Linked DNA regions of Homo sapiens: all the other regions are linked to region 6. Evidence: promoter capture Hi-C in human tissues and cell types (Jung and others, 2019). All regions are on one chromosome and are shown on one strand. The core of a region is centred on a gene start or on the middle of the fragment in contact, and the rest is flanking DNA. Distances in the headings are between cores, read along the strand shown.

What was found. The method cuts DNA at HindIII sites, captures the fragments that hold promoters and counts their contacts. A contact is called where the count stands out against the background at its distance.
Region 1: a contact is called between a fragment that was not itself captured here and the fragment with the promoter of EPSTI1 in region 6, in 1 of the 25 tissues and cell types used here (lymphoblastoid cells).
Region 2: a contact is called between a fragment that was not itself captured here and the fragment with the promoter of EPSTI1 in region 6, in 2 of the 25 tissues and cell types used here (IMR-90 fibroblasts and dorsolateral prefrontal cortex).
Region 3: a contact is called between a fragment that was not itself captured here and the fragment with the promoter of EPSTI1 in region 6, in 1 of the 25 tissues and cell types used here (H1 embryonic stem cells).
Region 4: a contact is called between a fragment that was not itself captured here and the fragment with the promoter of EPSTI1 in region 6, in 1 of the 25 tissues and cell types used here (dorsolateral prefrontal cortex).
Region 5: a fragment that was not itself captured here is called in contact with the fragment with the promoter of EPSTI1 in region 6 in 1 of the 25 tissues and cell types used here (dorsolateral prefrontal cortex).

Annotation. Positions count from the first base shown.
Region 1 is chr13:43,489,080-43,492,303 of GRCh38, forward strand. All of the region lies in intron 2 of ENOX1 (ecto-NOX disulfide-thiol exchanger 1), which reads right to left. Among named protein-coding and RNA genes, the nearest start is that of ENOX1-AS2, 42 kb to the left of the region's middle. The HindIII fragment of the contact is 3,392 bases long and covers 253-3,224 here.
Region 2 is chr13:42,657,566-42,660,643 of GRCh38, forward strand. No RefSeq gene overlaps it. Among named protein-coding and RNA genes, the nearest start is that of TNFSF11, 85 kb to the left of the region's middle. The HindIII fragment of the contact is 4,217 bases long and covers 1-3,078 here.
Region 3 is chr13:43,297,150-43,300,310 of GRCh38, forward strand. It overlaps ENOX1 (ecto-NOX disulfide-thiol exchanger 1), which reads right to left. Exons shown (of 17, transcript NM_001347969.2): 12 at 1,197-1,381. Among named protein-coding and RNA genes, the nearest start is that of ENOX1-AS2, 150 kb to the right of the region's middle. The HindIII fragment of the contact is 4,025 bases long and covers 1-3,161 here.
Region 4 is chr13:43,456,211-43,459,499 of GRCh38, forward strand. The region is part of intron 3 of ENOX1 (ecto-NOX disulfide-thiol exchanger 1); the gene reads right to left. It overlaps ENOX1-AS2 (ENOX1 antisense RNA 2), which reads left to right. Exons shown (of 4, transcript NR_120399.1): 3 at 2,247-2,260; 4 at 2,720-3,278. Among named protein-coding and RNA genes, the nearest start is that of ENOX1-AS2, 9.0 kb to the left of the region's middle. The HindIII fragment of the contact is 4,663 bases long and covers 1-3,289 here.
Region 5 is chr13:43,403,887-43,407,231 of GRCh38, forward strand. All of the region lies in intron 5 of ENOX1 (ecto-NOX disulfide-thiol exchanger 1), which reads right to left. Among named protein-coding and RNA genes, the nearest start is that of ENOX1-AS2, 43 kb to the right of the region's middle. The HindIII fragment of the contact is 3,394 bases long and covers 1-3,108 here.
Region 6 is chr13:42,990,916-42,994,221 of GRCh38, forward strand. EPSTI1 (epithelial stromal interaction 1) reads right to left here and starts at 1,326. Exons shown (of 11, transcript NM_033255.5): 1 at 1,063-1,326. The coding sequence starts at 1,250. RefSeq lists enhancers at 1,340-1,459, 1,720-1,959. The HindIII fragment of the contact is 8,524 bases long and covers 1-3,306 here.

The DNA of each region.
Region 1 (3,224 bases), core at 699-3,198, 500 kb after region 6:
GGATAGAAGAAAGCCAGGTGCTTTAGAAGAAAGCCAGGAGCCATTGACAATGCACCAATGGCTCTAAACACATTTTGAAGATCTTTGAGGCTGCCCCTCCCATCATGGGCCCAGAGTGCTAGGGCTTTGAGGGCAGAATGGTTTTGAGGAAGGGGCCCAGGGTGCCTGGGGGATCTGGGGACTCACTGCCCAGGGCAATCTCAAGTCTCTGCTCCCCACATTCTGTTACGGCATTCCTCAGCCTCCCCAGCTGTGGCTTGAGTGGACCCAGCTGCAGCTGTAAACCCTGGCAGCCTCCATATGGTCGTAATTCTGAGGCTTACAGAGTGCAAGAGCTGTGAGACACAGCTGCTTCCGCCTAGATTTCAAAGGATGTCTCAGGCAGCCTTGGGACCTAGGCATGAACTTGCTTGCCACAGAGGTAGGACCATGGCAGAGACCCTTCACTAGTGCAATGACTAGTGGAACTGTGGGGTCAGAGCCACTGCAGAGAGTCCCCAGTAGGGCAATCCTTAGTGCAGCCATGGGGGCAGGTTCACTCATAAAATCCCATTATTGTAGAGCCACAGCATGCAACTCCAGCCTGAGAGAGCTACAAGGGCTGAACTCCAGCCCGCGAGAGCTGCTTCATGGGCTATGCTCAACAATATTGTCATAGAAGGGTCTCCTGGAGGCTTGGAGACCCAACCCAGCTGAGTATGTCTTGAAGAAGATATGAAGTAAAAGATTACTTTCAAGTCTTAAGATTTAATGTTTGCCTTGTTGGGTTTTAGACTTACTTGGGACCTGTTACCCCTTTCTTCTTTGCTATTTCTCCCTTTTGGAATGGAAATGTCTATCCTATGTCTGTCCCATCATTGTATTTTACTTTATTTTTGAGACAGAATGTCGCTCTGTCACGCAGGCTGGAATGCAGTGGCATGACGTCGGCTCACCACAACCTCCACCTCCTGGGTTCAAGCGATTCTCCTGCCTCATCCTCCTGAGTAGCTGAGATTACAAGTGCCTGCCCCCACGCCCAGCCAGATTTTTTTCTATTTTTGGTAGAGACAGGGTTTTGTCATGTTGGCCAGGCTGGTCTCGAACTCCTGGCCTCAAGTGATACACCTGCCTCGGCCTCCCAAAGTGCTGGGATTGCAGGCATAAGCCATTGCGCCCAGTCCCATCATCGTATTAATATTTTAGAAGCGCATAACTTGTTTAACTTCACAGGTTCATAGCAGGAGAGCAATTTGCCTTGACATGAATTATGCCTTGAGTCTCACCCATAGAGGATTTAGATGAGACTCTGGATTTTAGACTTTGAGTTGATGCTAGAACAAGTTTAGACTGGGCTACTGGGATGGAATCAATGTATTTTGCATGTGAGAGGACATAAATTTGGGAGAGGGGCCAGGGTAGAATATTATGGTTAAAATGTGTCCCCTTCAAAATTCAGGTGTTGGCAATGTGATATTATTAAGAAATTGGGCTTTTAAGAGGTGATTAGGCCATAAGGACTCCTCCCAGGTAAATGAGATTAAGGACCTTATTAAAAAATGTTTCACACAGCATTTGGATAATTGCTCTTCTGCCTTCTGCCATGTGAGGGCAAAGGGTTCCTCCCCTCCGGAATAACCATCTTGGAAGAAAGCTTCCCTTTCCAGAAAACTGAACCTGCCAGTGCATTCATCTTGAACTTTTCAGCCTCCAGAACTGTAAGCAAACAAATTTTTATGCTTTATAAATTACCCCATCTATTGTATTTTGGTATAGCAGCACAAATAGACTAAGAGAGTGAGCCTGCAATAAATACAGTATCCTTCTTTATCCCTTTCACTGAAAACCTGTTAACACTATTTTCCATTCATTCCAACTCATAACATCACAATTTATGCACTACCATTGTGTCAATTCATTCTTAGATTGCTATAAAGAAACATCTGAGGCTGGGTAATTCATAAGCAAAAATTTATTTTGGCTTATGGTTCTTCAGCCTATACAGGAAGCATGGCGCTGGTGTCTGCTTCTGGCGCATCCTCAAGAAGCTTACTATCATGGTGGAAGGCAAATGGGAGCAGGTCCATCACATGATGACAGCAGGGGCAAGAGAGAAAAGGGAGAGGTCCCAGACTCTTTTAAACAACCAGATCTTGCATGGACTTAGTGAGAACTCACCTATCACAAAGGACATGGTGCCAAACCATTCATGAGGGATCCACCCGCATGATCCCATCACCTCCTACCAGGCCCCACCTTCAGCATTGGGAATCACATTTCAACATGAGATTTGGAGGGGACAAACATCCAAATCATATCAACCATAACTTCTAGCTAGTATTTATTCTTGTAGTTCATCCTGAAAAGAGCCCAAAATGGGTCATCCTCAGGCTATAGTGGTGATAAACATTTGAACTAAAGTAAATAAGGCAGGGCACTGTGGCTCATGCCTGTAATCCCAGCACTCTGGGAGGCTGAGGAGGCAGATCATTTGAGGTCAGGAGTTTGAGACCAGCCTGGCCAACATGGTGAAACCCTGTCTCTACTAAAAGTACAAAAATAGCCAGGTATGGTGATGTGTGCCTGTAGTCCCAGCTACTTGAGAGGCGGAGGCAGGAGAATGGCTTGAACCCAGGAGGTGGAGGTTGCAGTGAGCTAACACCACTGCACTGCAGCCCGGGCAACAGAGTGAGACTCCATCTCAAAAATAAATAAAATAAGTGAATAAATGCATAGATGAGATAATTCTTAAAATGTAACTCTAATTATGTACATCCACTACTAAAGAACTTACAAGGGCTCCCTATTTTCCAAAGATCAGACCTAAGTTATTCACCAGAAATATCTGTTCCCACCATCCTCTGTAATCTCAAAACAGACTATTTCTGACCAAAACCCTTGGATCCAGTAGAAATGGTCTGCTCACTATGTTATATAGTGAATCTCAACTAGAGGTGCATCACAGGTGCATGGGGTGTCGCCTATGACAAAAGTGATAAATGACATCTCTCTTGCCCTGTTTCTCTGATCAGCTACTACTTTGTGAACCACCCTATGGCGAGGCCCATTTGGAAAGAAACTGAAGGATCTTTCCAAGACAACAGCCAGTAAGAAACTTGGGCCCTTTATCTATTAGCCTATGAGAAACTAAATCCTACCAACAACCAATGAGCTTGGAAATATATTCTGCCCCAGTTGAGCAGAGATGCTGTAGATGTTGCTCTAGTTGAGATGACTACAGGCCT
Region 2 (3,078 bases), core at 34-2,533, 330 kb before region 6:
CTTCTTTGTGTATCATTTCAGTGTGTCTATGTTGTCTTTGCTATTAGTGTGAAAAGCCTTTTATTTGAGCAGAAAAGGAATCAATAGAGAGAGGAAGAAAAGAAGGAAAACGAGTGCACACCACCACCTGCTTTTCTGGGAAGACAGAAAGCATAAAAAGAAGATACATGTAAGGTGTTTTGAGCACAATAAATATGTGGGGGTTTTTTTTTTTTTTTTTTTGGCACTGCCCTTCAGGATGATATTGGAAAAAAAACAACCACTTTCTTCTCCTAGGGCTGTGGGGTCATCAATTGAAGGGAAATTGCTTCCACCAGCTGATGACGCCCAAATCCATACCTCTAATTTCAGATCCTTCTTTTGAGCTTGGTGTCCATATATCTAGGGATTTACAGGACACTCATTCATATAGACGTCCAAGTATTTCTGGAGGATGTACCATGAGGCAGGAAGTGTGTAGTGGAGAATCTGGGCTGAGTTTATTATTTAGTTTTGGACAGAGACAAGTGAGAAGAAACTGTTACTGCCGAGAGGGAGAATCACTGCGAGGGGAGCACACGCAGGAGCTCCACCCTGCCTGGGGCCGTGGAGGCGAGGAAGTAAGTGACACTGGAGTCTAGACCTGAGTTATGAGGAGGGATTGCCCAGAGACAAGCTCAGGGAGAGGCCACAGAAGATGCGGGAAAACAGGTAAGGGCCACAGCCTTTTCAAACACCCGGAGAAGACAGAGATGATGGCATGCGTGATGGAGAAACAGTGATGTTTGGAATGGCGGGAATGTCTAGTAAGCTTCAAGCACTCCAACATCTAACTCTGCCCCTCCTTTTGTATTCTCTCTTCTTGTGAATGACACTACGGCCTTCCCAGTCCCCCACACCAGCCACCTGCACATCTTCCTGTTTCCCTTTACTTTCCATTCCTCCCCCAAATCCAATAAACCACCACCTTTCTTCTAAGAGTCTTGCAGACGGGGATCCTCTTTTCCAAGCCCCTCTTCTCTCCCCTGGACTGCTGTGACGGTCTCCGTGCTTATCCTCCTGTCTTTACCTTGTCCCCTCCAGCCCATGAGACACATCGTTGTTGGAGTGCTCTCTGCAGAAAACAGAATCTGTCTCATCTTTTCCCATCACCACCCCTCAGTGTCTACTCACGGCCCTCAGAATTAGTTAGCATCTACTTCATCTCAGGGCATGCGAGGCTTCGTATGATTTGACCTCTGCTCAAACTTGCAGACCCCCCTATTTTCAGCCACTCTCCTGCATCTAACCTAAGATCCCATTACATGGAGCTTCCTTCAGTTACCAGAGCTTGCCCAACTCTCAAATTGAGTATTTTGTGTTTATTCTTTCCTTAAATGTCCCCACACTTCCTGTCTAGTTAATTCTATTATTTTATAATTCTCAGTGGAGACATCACCAACTGTGAGAAGCCTCCTTTGAAAGCCTCGTTGCCAGTCTAGATGGGGAAGCCTACATGCTTCCAAGCAGCCTGTGCTCTCCTCTCCCATAGCACAAGTCACTGAGTCTGTCTGTTCCTCATCAGGCTCAAAGTGCTTTGAGGGGCAGGTACCAATTATTTCATCTTGTATTCATTTGAGCCTAGCACAGTGTCCCCAAGCATTCATTCACTCTATTCTGCTTTTTTAACCACCTCAAGATGTTATAGTATGTTTCTGTGTAGTATCTGCCCCACTCTAAGGCAAGCTGTACAATGCCAGGGAGTTTGTTTTGTTCAATCCGTTGCCATGACAATGATACCTGGCAGAGGATAGGTGTTGAAGTAATTGTGTATTTGTTGAATGAATGAGTGAATGAATCTGATGTTCATGCCCTGATCCTAGCTTTGGTCCATTACGACTTCATCATGGCAAATCCCTATTTTTTCAGTTTTCTTTGACCTGAGATTCTTTAGTAAGTGGTTGCTGACTAACTATTTGACATGGGACAAGTTGCTAATCCCCTCTCTGTCTCAGTTTCTCCTTTGGTGAGGAGAAATCTAGCTTCATTAAATTGACATGCAGTTAAATCTACTTCATTAAATTGACATGAGAGTTAAATTAGTTTATTCATGTACAATATTTAAACAGTACCTAGCACATGGTAAATGTCCAGTAAATGTTAGCTATCATCATCATCAAAATTACCTCCATCTTGTTTTTATATCCCACACTCCTTTAAAATCATTCTTTGAAACATTTTTCCTCCTACAAAGTCTTCAAGCTATAACTGTCCCAATCATTTTAGGGGCCACAGGACAGCTTCATGCAGAGTCTCTAGCATAATGCTAGATAGTTATTAAATGCTTGACTAGAATGACAATTTGGAATTCCTCTTTTAAAATACTGGCATCTTGATGTGTAGGTCATCTTTTCAGATTGCCCCATACTGAACTGATCTGCACTATTCAATAGAAAATGAGTTTTTGGGAAACAGCGTTTTCTTGTCTATTCTCTCACTTCAGTTAGGAATAACAGTTATAAGCAGAATAACAATAGCATTTCTATTTTTATACATGACATCCATCCACCTGTTTTTCAAAACCTGACACCTGAGCCAGATGGATTTCATCCTAGTTTTATTTTCTTTCTTTTTCTTTTTTATTTTTGGAGAGGCTGGGATAATACCTGCACAGTGAGAGCAAAGCCATGGCCCCAGAAGCAAGGAGAGCTCATCCTAGGTTTAGATAGGAACTTAAATAAGGAAAAAACCTTCCTCAGGTGCTCCAAGAATCAAATAAACACATGTTCACAGTGGCATTTCCATGGAGATGTTAGAAAGCCAATCTGAGCGTGCTATTCCATGTAATTTGAACAGGTGCAAGTTAAGCATGGTGGCTTGCATTCCTATAATGCCAATAAAAGCTTTAATACTCTGGAGATTAATTAATGATAAAAACAAGATCTTGCTGGCATCTGTGATGAATGCTTGTGGGTATTGAATACATAGCCTGACACAGGTATGTGTGTCTGTATATGTGCATTGAGTTTAAGCATTGTCCAAAAGATGGCACTGTTTGTGTTTTTATCATGTTTAATTGCAAACTTTATACTATCTAGGCATATTAATGAACTAATTTAA
Region 3 (3,161 bases), core at 402-2,901, 310 kb after region 6:
GATGTTTAAGATATAATTTGTACGAGTTGGTTATTAACTTGTTCACTTCCCAATCCGTGATTCTTTTTTATACTCTCCCTCTCAATTATTTTTCCCTGTTAGGTTGATGTATCTGTAGTAGTTACCTCTAATCACTAAGATACTTCTGTAGGCAATCCATGCTCTGGATGTTACAGAGCAGTCAATATGGATGGGGGAATTAAAAAAAATTGACTCTATATATTTTAACTTTCCATCATTCTACTTATATTTCCCTTGTTTAAATAAAAACAATCTTTTTTTTTTCAGAAAATATTGATTGGATTTGTATATTCAGAGGGATAATTTAAAAATACCCATGATGATAATATATGCTCTGTTATTCTAAGGTAACTCAAAGGCCCAAACACCTTAAGAATATCAGGTACCAATTGACGTTTTCAGATACAAATCTGACTGTGAATCTTTGACTCTATTCCCTCACTGCCAACAGTCAGATTTTCCCCTCCTGTCGACATTTTATATCCCACAGTACCTGTTCCTTTTCCCTACTCCAAAGCCCTCAACTTTCATTTCCTTTTTAACAATTGCCATAAATATACATCTTTAAATTCAGTATGCCAGGATGAGGTCTGGCACTCTTCAACAAAAACACAGCTATTGCCCTGTTTCTAAAGTTATTTATCCCCCAAAACTCTGATGCTTCATGTATTCCATCAACAAACACTTCTTAAACACGTAATGTGCTCAAAGAACCTGACTAGATCCTAAGTGTAATACAGAAAAAGTGGAAACAATATAATTTACATTTACACTAACCTTGAAGACAGACAAACAAACTGCTTTTGTAAAATCAGTTGTCGTGCTTTGAAGTTAAAAGTTCTAAGATTACAAAATGCTTGTATCATGCAGGGATCTGCTAGGTATTTGCCATGGGGCTATATTTCACATGCAGCCTTTCAATCTCCTAAATCCAAATCATTTTCCTTTATTTCCTACCTCCAGGGTGATTTCTTCAACATATTTTATTGGCTTGGCTTTTCTCCAGATTCTACCCTTCCACAAACAGTCATTAGCACTTTTCTGTCCTAGTAACATAGCTTTTTGGTTGTCATTTCTTCTCCTTCACCCTTTCCAGCACACGGCTGCCTTTCCATTTTCATTTAATACACATATCTCTTTCTCTCAAAAAAAAAAAAAAAATCTGGGCCAGGTACCTGCTGCATGCCTTGCATGGTTTGCTGCAGAAACTGCAGTTGCTGGTCCTTGGTGAGGTTTTCTTCTGTTCGGAAAAGCTGTTCTTTTTCTTGTTTCAGCAGCTCCACCTCATTCCTGTAGGCATCCAGCTGCCAGCGGAGACTGTCATTCTCCTCTTTCAGAGCGTAGGCCTGGGCAGCCAGGGCTGAGGGACAAACAGAACGAGTTCAGGTGAGCTACCTTCTTGCTTAGCTTGAGGAGGCCTTCTGTGGGAAAGGGAGTCTGTCACCCAAGTTCTTAATGTTTGTACCAGCTCAGAAATAAAAGCAAAATGCCACTCCCTGGGCCTCTCTTTTGTAGTCGGTATGCATCACTTCTCTCGGAACTTTTATCTATTCTGTTTGTCCTGTCTTACATGTGAATGTTTCTTATGGGCACAGGATTAATTCCTCCCAAATTCTCATCCCTTGACCTCTCCCTCAATGCTAGACACCCTCACAGACATTGGTATGTGGTGCTAGGTGGTGACAACATTTAGAATTCCAGGCAACAATCATATCTACTAAATATTGTCTTCCCCCTTTCTACGGGATTGCTTAGCTACTTGGAGGGCTGCTTGCTTTCAAATAATCAGCAGTTCCACAGGTTGAGACATGCGGCAGCATCCCAGGGGAGAGAGGAAATTATATGCACACCACTCCTTCCTGCTCTACTGCTGGGACAAATTGCACAGATTGTTTTCCTCCAACTCCTATCAGAATGGGAAGCTAGTTCCATCTGTTTCACCAACAGATTAAAACTCTTTTCCTCTACAAGGCTGAGTGGTTACTCTAATACCTCTCCCTGAAACCCCAAATTCTCCACATTTAGATTCAGACTTCATTCATATGTCTATCTTATTAAGAAACCAAGACAGTTAACTCAGGGTCTCACACATCTCAAGGCTTCAGAAATAGCCGAAACTGAAAAAGAAACAAATGGTACCAAACAAAGATTGAGGGTAGGGAAATCCCTTTCCCTAGTTTCTACCTTATTGCTTAGGGGTCTCTCCGAAAATCAACATAGCCTGCTGAGCACTCATAAAGCACTGGATCAAGAGCTTTGTATGAACTCACTCACTTCATACCCCCACCAAGCCTGTGATGCCGGTGCTGGTCTTATGCTCATCTTTACAGATGAGAAAAATGTGGCACAGAGAAGTTATGTAACTCATCCAATCCCACAAAGTAAGTAGCAGAAAGCCTTCACACCCAGGCTGCAGGCTCCAGAGTCTCTGCTCTCGATTACCATCGGTCCATGTGTTTAGTTCTTACCAGGCTGTTCAAAACCAGTCTCACATTCCCCCACCAACTCTCCCACCACTCTCCCTTTAATCTTCCCCCTCACAGAAAAGCCATTCCCCACTTGTGTAAGCAAGAGAAAAGTGAAAGAAAATTTGAAACGCTTGTTACCAGAAACTTCAAACATGTAACTTCCAGTAGATAAGGGCACGGTGTGGAGCCCACTGCACACCAGGTCGTCAGTGCATGCGCGTTTCCAGCCCCCGCTCCCCGTGTCAGAGGACCAAATCAAGGTCGCCTCCTGAGTGTTCTACCTGCACATTACAGTTCCATGGTGATAAAGCTTTACTGAGGTTCTCTGAGACCACAGTGAATTCTCTCCTCAAATATCAAATGTCAAATTATGTTAATAATAGTTTTATAGTTGAGTGTTTTACAGTACTCCATCTTGCAAAATGATAATCTCTGTGTAGTACACACTGAACTACTAATCAGACAGAACATGCAATTACCCAGAAATTTCCCTACCTCAAGCCAGTAGGGATCAATTACTTAACACGCATTTACTTCATATTTACTGTGCTCAGGTCCGTGAGGGCATCTCAGACCACAAAAAGAGGAGACAGAATACATCTCTTCTCTCAAAGAGCTTAATCTAGTAGAAACTGACACATTTAAAAAGAAACTATTGCTTTCAAAGGAAGA
Region 4 (3,289 bases), core at 603-3,102, 470 kb after region 6:
CTTCTCTGAGCTCCTTTAGCCCCTTTCTCTGTTTTGATCTCTATATTTTATTCTATATTTTATGTCAGTGGATATCCTCAAATATCTGATGGCCCTTCATTACTCATTTATATTTAAGAAATATATATGTTTATTTCATATATATACATTATATATGAAACAAACGATTCATTTATATTTAAAAACAGTGGGTCTAGTTTCCAAGGGAAACCCTGAGTGTAGACAGGGTGTGCTTTTTCCTTGACTGGCATCCCTCCGAGGTAACAGAGTGGGGAATCTAACCATTTCAACAGGGACTCTGCCAATCAGTCATTTTTTGGACTGAGTTTCTGCAGATAAGAATCTCCAAACCCCTGCCTAAGGAGCCAGTCCCTAGCTGTAGGTTCCCTGGGAGCTATGTCAGGGAATAGTCCAGGAGGGTTTCACCTGTTCTCTCTGTGGAGTTTCATCCTCTCTCCTGGGCCCAATCCCTGAGTCTAGAGTATCTCTGATTCAATGTAGCCTAAGACTATCCCTGATACCTCACATAGGGTTGGGGAATTGGTAGAGTCAGTGTGAGCTAGGGAGGGCAGGGCCTAACTACTCCATATACTCTGTTGGTCTGAAGCTCCTGGCAATCAATTCTCCTTTTTCCAGTCTCATGACTCCTAAGCCTCCACAGCATCCCGTGCATGAATCTGAAGGCTTTGCTCAGTGCACCTCAGCTATTCCTCCTCCATCACTCTGCTGTCTTCCACAAATTGCCTGATATCTCACATTCAGTAGCCTCTCCTCTGTTCTCTCATTTGCTTTGTGTCCCTGCTTTGTGGTTTTTAAAATTCTTTACTAATTTCAGTGAGATTTATTTTTTGTTCTTTACTAATTTTAATGAGATTTATTTTTTATTCTTTACTAATTTTAGTGAGATTTCTGGAACAGGAAGATATGAAAGCATGTGTTCAATCTAATAAAACCAGAAGTTTCTAGTGTTATACATTTTACTTTGTAGTTATATGTACTTATGTATTTTGTTTTGGTCTAGTTTGTTTGTCCAGAGAACTTTATGAGTTACTTGGACAAACTAGTAACCACCTCACAACTACTGTTAAGGAGGGTATTGACAAAATCATTTTACTTCTTTGTTATTTTTTAGGGATTATCAGGCAAGGTCAAGTTGACTTTCCATAAATGTTATCTTTATCCAGATAACAGCATTTTGTTATCTTGGCTCCAGAAGTTTGGACAAATAATCAATTTGAGGTAGACGCATATCAATTTATCAATAAGAAGGAAGGAAGACTATAAGGAGGAGGGAAGAAAGAAAGCAGAAAGGGAGGGAGGGGGAAGGAGAAAAAGGAAACAGACATAAAAGATTTTAAAACAGAACAGCAGGAAGACTGGCCCAACTAAATAACTATACTAAGAAAAGCTATGTATGTTCACTAAATAAGAAGATAAATTTCGGAAAATCATCTGGCTTTAAGATAATTCCAAACAATGATCACTGACTTGGAAGGCAGTTAAGCAATTTATGTCACTGAATGTTAATGGTCAAACTACGTTTTATCAGTCAACAAAATGTACCCAAAATGCATATGAAAAGCAGTATAGCCTGCAACAGAACCTATCACATAATGATTTTTCACAATTACATGTCCAGACCAACTTCTAACTATATACTGACTCTTACCACTCTGAAATATATCTATTTTTTGGCTCAAGAATATATGTGTATATGTATGTACCAAGGTATATATGTGTGTATTCCTCCCCTCATCTCCCAAAGAAATTTATGTTAGCTTGCAGGTAATCCTTTTACTTGAATATATGTTTATTTTCCTGCTTATATTTCTTATAAATTTGTCTAGCTCAAATTATGTAGTCCTCTATCCTCTGTCATACTCAATTATGGACCAATAACTTTTTTAAAAAAGTTAACTATGTTGTCAACAACATCACTTCCAATGTAGCCATCATCATATCTTTGAGCTTAACAAAAAGCTTGACTTTACAGTCAGATTGACCTTATTTTAAATCCCCTGTCTTCCATTTACTAAATAAACTCCCCGATAGGAAAATGGACATATTCTCTATTTTGCAGGATTTTATGAGAATTAAATCATACAATGCATATAAAGCACCTGGCATACTGTAGGTACCCAATTAAAAAAAGCTATTCAAGTCAGAATATGAGATGATATTGAAACCTTAAGCTGTCTAAAAGTACATCTTTTCCAACTGACTAATTTTTCATTTCCATTTTTTAGGCATCGCATCACTGGTAAGCTGGTCACCTGGAAGCAACGCATCAGTTAGCCACTGAAAAGGGGTGTGCAGAGCTCTTACAGAAAATTGAGAAAATCATTATATTGATATATTGATTATATTAAGAAAATCATTATATTGCTATCTACTTTTATATAAGTAGGGGAAAGGGAGGACTGGACAAAAACAATAAAGGAAAATATTTGGCCCAGCATCAGTTTCTTGACCCCTTTAGAATTCTATTTAACTACAAAATTAGGAGGTTATATGAAGTCCCTCCAAGTGTTCAGGACAAAGAGTTCTGTGGTTAGATGATTTTGAAACACACCTCGATCGTCTCACACCTCCCCCTCCCCATTCTTGAAGCTTTGAAACACATATGAGTTTATTCAAGGTATCTGTCCCATTTTGTTTTACCTTCCGTTATACAAACTTACTTGACTACAGACTCTCCCCCTTTTTTCTTTTCTTTCAGGTAATATTTATTGACATACTTTGGAAAAGACTGGATGAGTTGCTCTGCGACTTCCCACTCTAACATATGTTTCTCTGAGTTTCTACAACTTCAGCTAAATGTTTTAAGGAAGAAAAGAACAACAGAATATGTGCTAATTTTGATTGATTGATGCTCCCTCCTATAGCAGCATACAAATTTTAGAGTGGGAGAAAAATCTATTACGATTTCAATGAAATGAGCTATTTTATCTTGTCCCTATGTGGTACCATCAACATTTTAGACAGATGAACACCAAACCATTGACTGAATTGCTGCATAGTGGATTTGCCTTGATTATAAAGACAGTTGAATGACCAGGGTACCTCTGGCAATTTTGGCAATCAATAAGTAACATGAATCAACTATGTAGTGGTCAGACTGGCTACCCAGTGCTCAATCAAAACAGAAAATAACAGAGATAAGTTAATCCTTAGGTTGCAGGACTATACCATGATACCAGCATAAAACTCAAATGGACATTCATGATGAAAAAATGTTAATGCTATCATTATACAATAAACTGCTAAAAGTATTTTTATTAGTAAAATA
Region 5 (3,345 bases), core at 162-2,661, 410 kb after region 6:
ATATTGTAGACACACACACATCAGCTTAGCACTAGGATGCAAGTTGCAGGACAGCATGTGTAGCGTCTATGGCAGTGCCTGCACATGGCAGGTGCTCCATATTCCAGTCCCATTGGATGTATCTAGGCCATCTACCTCTGCCCCATCTACCTCTGCCATCCCTTTTTGGACAGCAGCCTTCTAGATACAAACCCAGCCTCCCTCCCCTCTTGCCATTCTTCAATGCAGTCTCTATAAAACAAGTCAGATGCTTTTTTGTTAGCAGAAATAAAGAAACAAAACACACGAGTCACAGGTCACTTATCTCCTTAAAACTTCAGTAGTTTGCACTTCAAATAAAGTCTGTACTCCAAGCTTTGGAAGGCATGGTCTGGCCCCAGCCTATCCTACCAGACTTGAGTTAAGCACCAACCTGCCAATCCCACTCCATCCCAACCACCACCTCTGGCCCACATACACCCACTTTTCTCTTCTTTGAAGAGGATAAGCTCCTTTCATCTCAGGTCTTTGAACAGGACATTTTCTGCTTTTAGAACTTTCTCATCTTTTCAAATTCTCCATTTCTTTCTGCTCTTCCTTCCTGCTAACTAGATAAGTCTAATTTATCCTTTAGGTCTTAGTTTGAATATTACTACTTTAGGGGAACCTTTTCTGAAGCTTCTCCAATACCTCCAAACAAAGTTAGCCTCCCAATTCCTCTTTGTAACATCCCACAATTATAATTAGTCATTTGTATAATTATTTGATAACATCTTCTTTAGAGATACGTGTTCTCCATAAGAGCATCACTGGTCGGTCAGGCCAATTGCTGTTCCTCTAGTGCCTTGTAAAAAATGCTGTAATACTGTGGTGAGTAAATAAATATACCAATGTAATGTCCTAATGTCCTGGGGAAGAAAGGGTAAGTAAATGCATAGAGTGTAACAGAACTGTCACAAGTACATGAAATCAGGTACATAAATTGTGAAACATAAGTCAAGGGCCTATTTGTTTTCTGACACTTGATAGTGAGAAATCTTTCAACAAGATGGAAAATAAAAACAAAAGAGAACTCTGAGCATCATCCTTTAGAGACCCCCACTGGTACCCGCCAGGCTGTCTGTATCCCCTTCATCATGGCTGTGTCAGAGAATGCCACCATTAATATCTGAAGGGACTAAAGAAAGAAACTTTGCTGGTATAAGTATGATTTTCATTTTAAAAACAAGCATGTGGGGTGGTTTATCAACAGACAGTCCTGAGTGTATTTGTAAGCTGAAGAGACAGTTTCAGGCAGGATTTCCAGATTCTATTTTTTTATCTCTGACCACTTCTCTCATTTCAAATCTTGGAGCCCTGAAATAGTAGGAATGTAGTGGGACACAAGAGAGGGATCTGGAGACCTGGCTGCAGGGTAGGCTGAAACTTGAAGGAGCATCTGAGAGCTTCTTCCTAATTTCACAGCAGAGGTGCGTCTGGGCGTTACGGTCCCCAGGGCGTCAACAACCATCCCTATGTTGTGGCCACCAAAGCCATACCTCCATCAGGCCTTCCTTCCTGCTTGCCAGGCCCATAAATCTCCCTGCTCAACACAGGTTTTCTTTCAACAGGTTCCTCAAACTCAACATATCCAAAAGGAAATGAGCCATCTTACCCATCCTTCTCTTTCAGCCTTCCCCACCTTCTAAGCAAATGGCTCTATGGTTAACCCCACTTGCAAGTCTAGAAGCCTAGGAGTCACTGTTGATTCTTCACTCTCCTTATGTTCCATGTGGTCTTAGTCATCCATTCCTGTGGTTTCTACAATGAAATGTCTCATGAATCCCTTCAGGTTACTCCATCTGTACTGCTCAGGATAATCGCTGGCATTACTGCCATCACTGTCTCTTATCTGGGTAACTCCTGTCTGGTTGCCAACCTTTCCACACCCCCATCAGTCCTCTATAGGGGTTACAAACATGCTCTGTAAAAATATAATTCTGATCCTGCTACTCCCCTGCTTAACTTTCTTCAGTGACATCCTATAGCACCCTTTATCTATTAGTAGCATAACCACTTATCATGTTAATTTGTTTTTGTGTATTTACTCTTTTCTGTTTCTCCCGCCACTCTAAAGCATGACAGTAAGGTCTATGTCCTGTATTCCCAGTATTTAGCATAACATCTGGCTCAATAAATCTCAGTTAAAAGAGTGATGCTTGAGGAGATGAAAGGATTTAACAAATCCCTCTTCATATCTGGGCATATTAAAGAGGATAAAGGTGTTCCTGTGAGGATTAAACAACCCAAGAAGGAAATTAGAAAAAAGTACTCTGAGGAAGCAGAGAAGAATGAAAATAAGTGGAAACACCAGTGAATGGGAGAGGGTAGTGAAGGGGACGGAGAAGGACTTGCAACCTATCTTGGCGTTCCATGAGATAGAAAGCTAAGTTCTTCTCAGAATGGCAGGAAACAGAAGCAGTGACAGTGAACCCAGAGCTTCTGAAAAAGAAACAGCAAGGTATGAGCCAAGGAACACTTAAGGGTGCTGATAGACCCTTACAAGTGTGAAGAAGTCTTTTGTTGGCTCCAAATTAGTCACTGATAAAGGATGTGGCTCTATGTAGTTAATTGGGAAGTATGTTGTCTTTTTTTTTTTTTTTTTTGAGACAGAGTCTCACTCTGTCACCCAGGCTGGAGTGCAGTGGCGCCATCTCGGCTCACTGCAAGCTCCGCCTCCCGGGTTCACGCCATTCTCCTGCCTCAGCCTCCCGAGTAGCTGGGACTACAGGTGCCCGCCACCATGCCCTGCTAATTTTTTTGTATTTTTAGTAGAGATGGGGTTTCACCGTGTTAGCCAGGATAGTCTCAATCTCCTGACCTCTTGATCCGCCTGCCTCAGCCTCCCAAAGTGCTGGGATTACAGGAGTGAGCCACCGCGCCCGGCCAAGTATGATGTCTTTTTGGAACATGTGTTTAAAATAGCACAAATGGCATGCTAAGAAGCTTGGAGTAAAAGATGTGCATCACCCCAGAGTCAATAATGGCTAAAGAAATATTGTTGACAATAGGAAAGGAGATTTCAAAAAGTTTATAGAAAAGCAAGGTATTATCTCACGGCCAGAGAATATCCAGAAAGCACTATTAGTTCCCATGCAGGCCTGGGCAAGAAACTTAAAACCTGGGTACTCAGCTCCTGCTTTTCAGCTCTCCTTCCAGTTGATGATTATAACTTTGGAAAAGAAATTAAGTTATACAGGAAGAGAGCAGCTGGTCACACAAGAGGTGCCAAAGCTTGGGATTTGATATTCTAGATTTCAACTTGTGACACCAGAGGTGGGGCCTTCTGAAAAGGGACAACGTGTGCCACAGAAAACTGAGAAGAAG
Region 6 (3,306 bases), core at 76-2,575:
CATACTGTTGAGTTAAAGTTCATTCCATTGGCTAGAAAGAGAGGCTCATGACACTTGCTTAATAAATGTTTCCCGGATACTCACTGCAGTCCCTGAACCAAAGACCAGGAATAAAAGCTACCTATCTGTTCCTGCATAGAGCACATATCAACATCAGGGATGAGAGGTACTATGGTCACTCACCTCCTCACTCTCTCAGCTCCACTCCTCTGGTTGTAAGAGGCTAGTTTATCTGCGAGTCTTGCTGGGACGTAGGCTTGCTCCTACCTAGAGGCAGAATTTGAACCTTCTACCCCATATCACATTTCTTGTTGACCCTTACCTGTTAGTGTCTGATACAGTAATTCCGTTTAGGACACCAAGTTTTGTTTTTCTGTTTTGTTTTGTTTTGAGACAGTCTCGCTCTGTTGCCCAGGCTGGAGTGCAATGGCGCAATTTCCGCTCACTGCAACCTCCGCCTCCCGGGTTCAAGCGATTCTCCTACCTCAGCCTCCCAGGTAGCTGGGACTACAGGCACGTGCCATCACACCCAGCTTATTTTTTATTTTTAGTAAAGACTGGGTTTCACCATGTTGGCCAGGCTGGTTTCGAACTCCTGACCTCAGGTGATCTGCCTGCCTTGGCCTCCCAAAGTGCTGGGATAACAGGCTTGAGCCAACGCGCCTGGCCCAGCACCAAATTTTTAAAAACAGTAAGGGAAAAGTTATTTCCATACTGGTTGGAGTATGAGTTCTGGAGATACCTGGAAAATGACATCTTACTGGATGCCTAGGCAGTTCCGACACACCCATATCTTTCAATCCTGTAGCCAGTCACAAAAATCAGGAAAGTAGTATTCCTGGAAGGAACCGGGCTGGTTATTTACCAAAGGACTGCAAACTAGCCGACTCAATTTATAAGGTGCGGCATGGATACTTTCATTTAAGCAAATGAGCTTTCATTCAGTCAAAATCCCTGTTGTTGGGCCCCTGTGGTTTTAAACTCCAAGGACCAAGGTGCTTGTGAGTGAGTATGTTTGGGGCCCGGGCTCCCGCCCCGAAGCCAGGTTGTTAAAATACTCACCGCCTCTGGCCCGCGTGCACGACGCTCTCCCGCGAAGGGCCCTTAGGGGCTGCCTCCAAACCCTCTCTCTGGTCTTCCACGGGGCTCAGCTCCCCTTGCCGCCCAGAAGGGTCCTGGGGATCCCGGGTCGGGCGGGAGGCAGGGGAGGCGCCGAGCCCGGAGTTCACCACTCTATTGCGGGTGTTCATGGTTCACAGCCCGCGGGTCCCGGGCCGCCGTCGCTGCGGGAGGGATGCGGCTGGGACGCTTAGCGAGTCTCAAGATGGGATTCCAAAGTGCAGAGGCAGCGGTTTTAACAGCTGAGTTTCGGTTTCTCAGAATCAGCAGCAGACTGCGCCCGCCCCAGAGAACTTCCCCACGTATTCTCCACTGAGGCCCCGTCCGACCTTATCGCGGGTTAACAGCCCAGGATGTTGACTTGAGCTGGCTTGGTCGGCTACAGGTGAGACGGTTTAAAGTCTCACAATCACCTTAGAGGTTAATCAGAATAACTGGGATCAGCCACGGACACCTGGTGAGCGATTAGCCCGCAGAGTGACTACAATCCTGAAAGATACTTGAGAAACTGTTTAACAGGCAACTCTAATTTGAGGTTACCGCTGGATATTTGAGACTGTAAAAAATATATTAACCTTAAAATACCAGAGATTAGGTCAATAACTAAAATCATCTCAACAAAATGTCGCCTTTTATCAGTAATGACTGCTGTGTGGCTGTTACCAATGCACATACTTTCAAGTTAGAGGAAATGGAAACTGAAATCAAAAGAAAACAAAAACCTACAAAGCCGGAGAAGTAAGCTAAGGTAGACATGATTCTCCAGGCAGCCTTGCTAAGTAATTGACTAGACATTCGAGAACTATTAAAAATACCTGCTCTGTGCAGAACAGTGTGCAACGGTGATGTGGGGACATTTTAAAATATGGATGTGTAAGGCTCAGTTCCTGTAGGTTCAGGGGTGAGCTCTGGCATTCATATTTTTGAAAAGCTCCCAGATGATTCTGATGTGTGCCAGGGTTGGTCACCAGGGTCACAATGCCGTCTACACAAAGATGAGTGAAGGCTCTTCCCTCATGCTACCTGCATTCTAGGAGTATCCTAGTAGACAGGTAAACAAATGGGAATGCCACTTTGGGATAAATGAAATGACAGGCAGCTGTGGAGGCACAGAGAAACTGGGGATTAGCCCTCTGAGTAATTCAGGAACAGGGACATTTGAGAATGAGCCACCAAAGACATAGGAATTCACCAAGAAGAAGGAGATGCTATGGCAGAGGCTTGTCACTTAAAATGACATGGTGTGTACTTAATTCCAGGGGTTGTCATGTGGCTGGAGCACCCCAGTCCTAGGTCAGCAAGACAGTTAGGAGCTGGACTGTCTTCCTTATATTATTGGTGCTTAGAACAAAAAGACACATACAGGTTTGATAGCTAATGAAAGAATGAAATTGAAGGGTGGGCCAGGGTGGGACAGGAGAGGAGAAAATAATGACAAGGAACATGGTAGGAAAGTCAGTCAGGATTTCTATGCCATCCTAAGACATTAGGGTTTTGTAGAGTAGGCCAGAGTTTCACAAATTTCAGTAAGCATCAGAACCACTTGGAGGAGGGTGCGTTAAAACAGATTTATGGCCAGGCACGGTGGCTCACTCCTGTAATTCCAGTACTTTTGGAGGCCGAGGCAGGAGGATTACCTGGAGATCAGGAGTTGAAGACCAGCCTAGCCAACGTGGCGAAACCCCACCTCCACCTGGGCGACAGAGAGAGACTCCATCTCAAAAATATATATATATAGTTTCTGATTCAGGTCTGGGATGGGGCCCAAGGATTTGCATTTCTAACAAATTTCCAGGTGATACCAATGATGCCAGTCTCAGGATCACCCTTTGGGAACCACTGTTGTAGGCAATGTGGAAGGCACAGGAAGTTTTTCAATAGGGCAGTTACTCAATAATATCTGTTTTACAAAGTTAGCTTCTAACAATGTGAAAACGGAGATTGAAAGATGAAGAGACTGAAATCGGGAAGATAAATTCAGAGCCTAGTTACGTCTAGGTAAGAAATACAGATCTGAGCTAAGGCAACCCAGAAAGTGGGGAGCAAAATCAAGACATTTCACATGGGCCAGGCTCAGTTGCTCATGCCTGTAATCCCAGCACTTTTGGAGGCTGAGGCAGGAGGATCACCTGAGGCCAGGAGTTTAAGGCCAGCCTGGGCAGCATGGTAAGACCTCATCTCTACAAA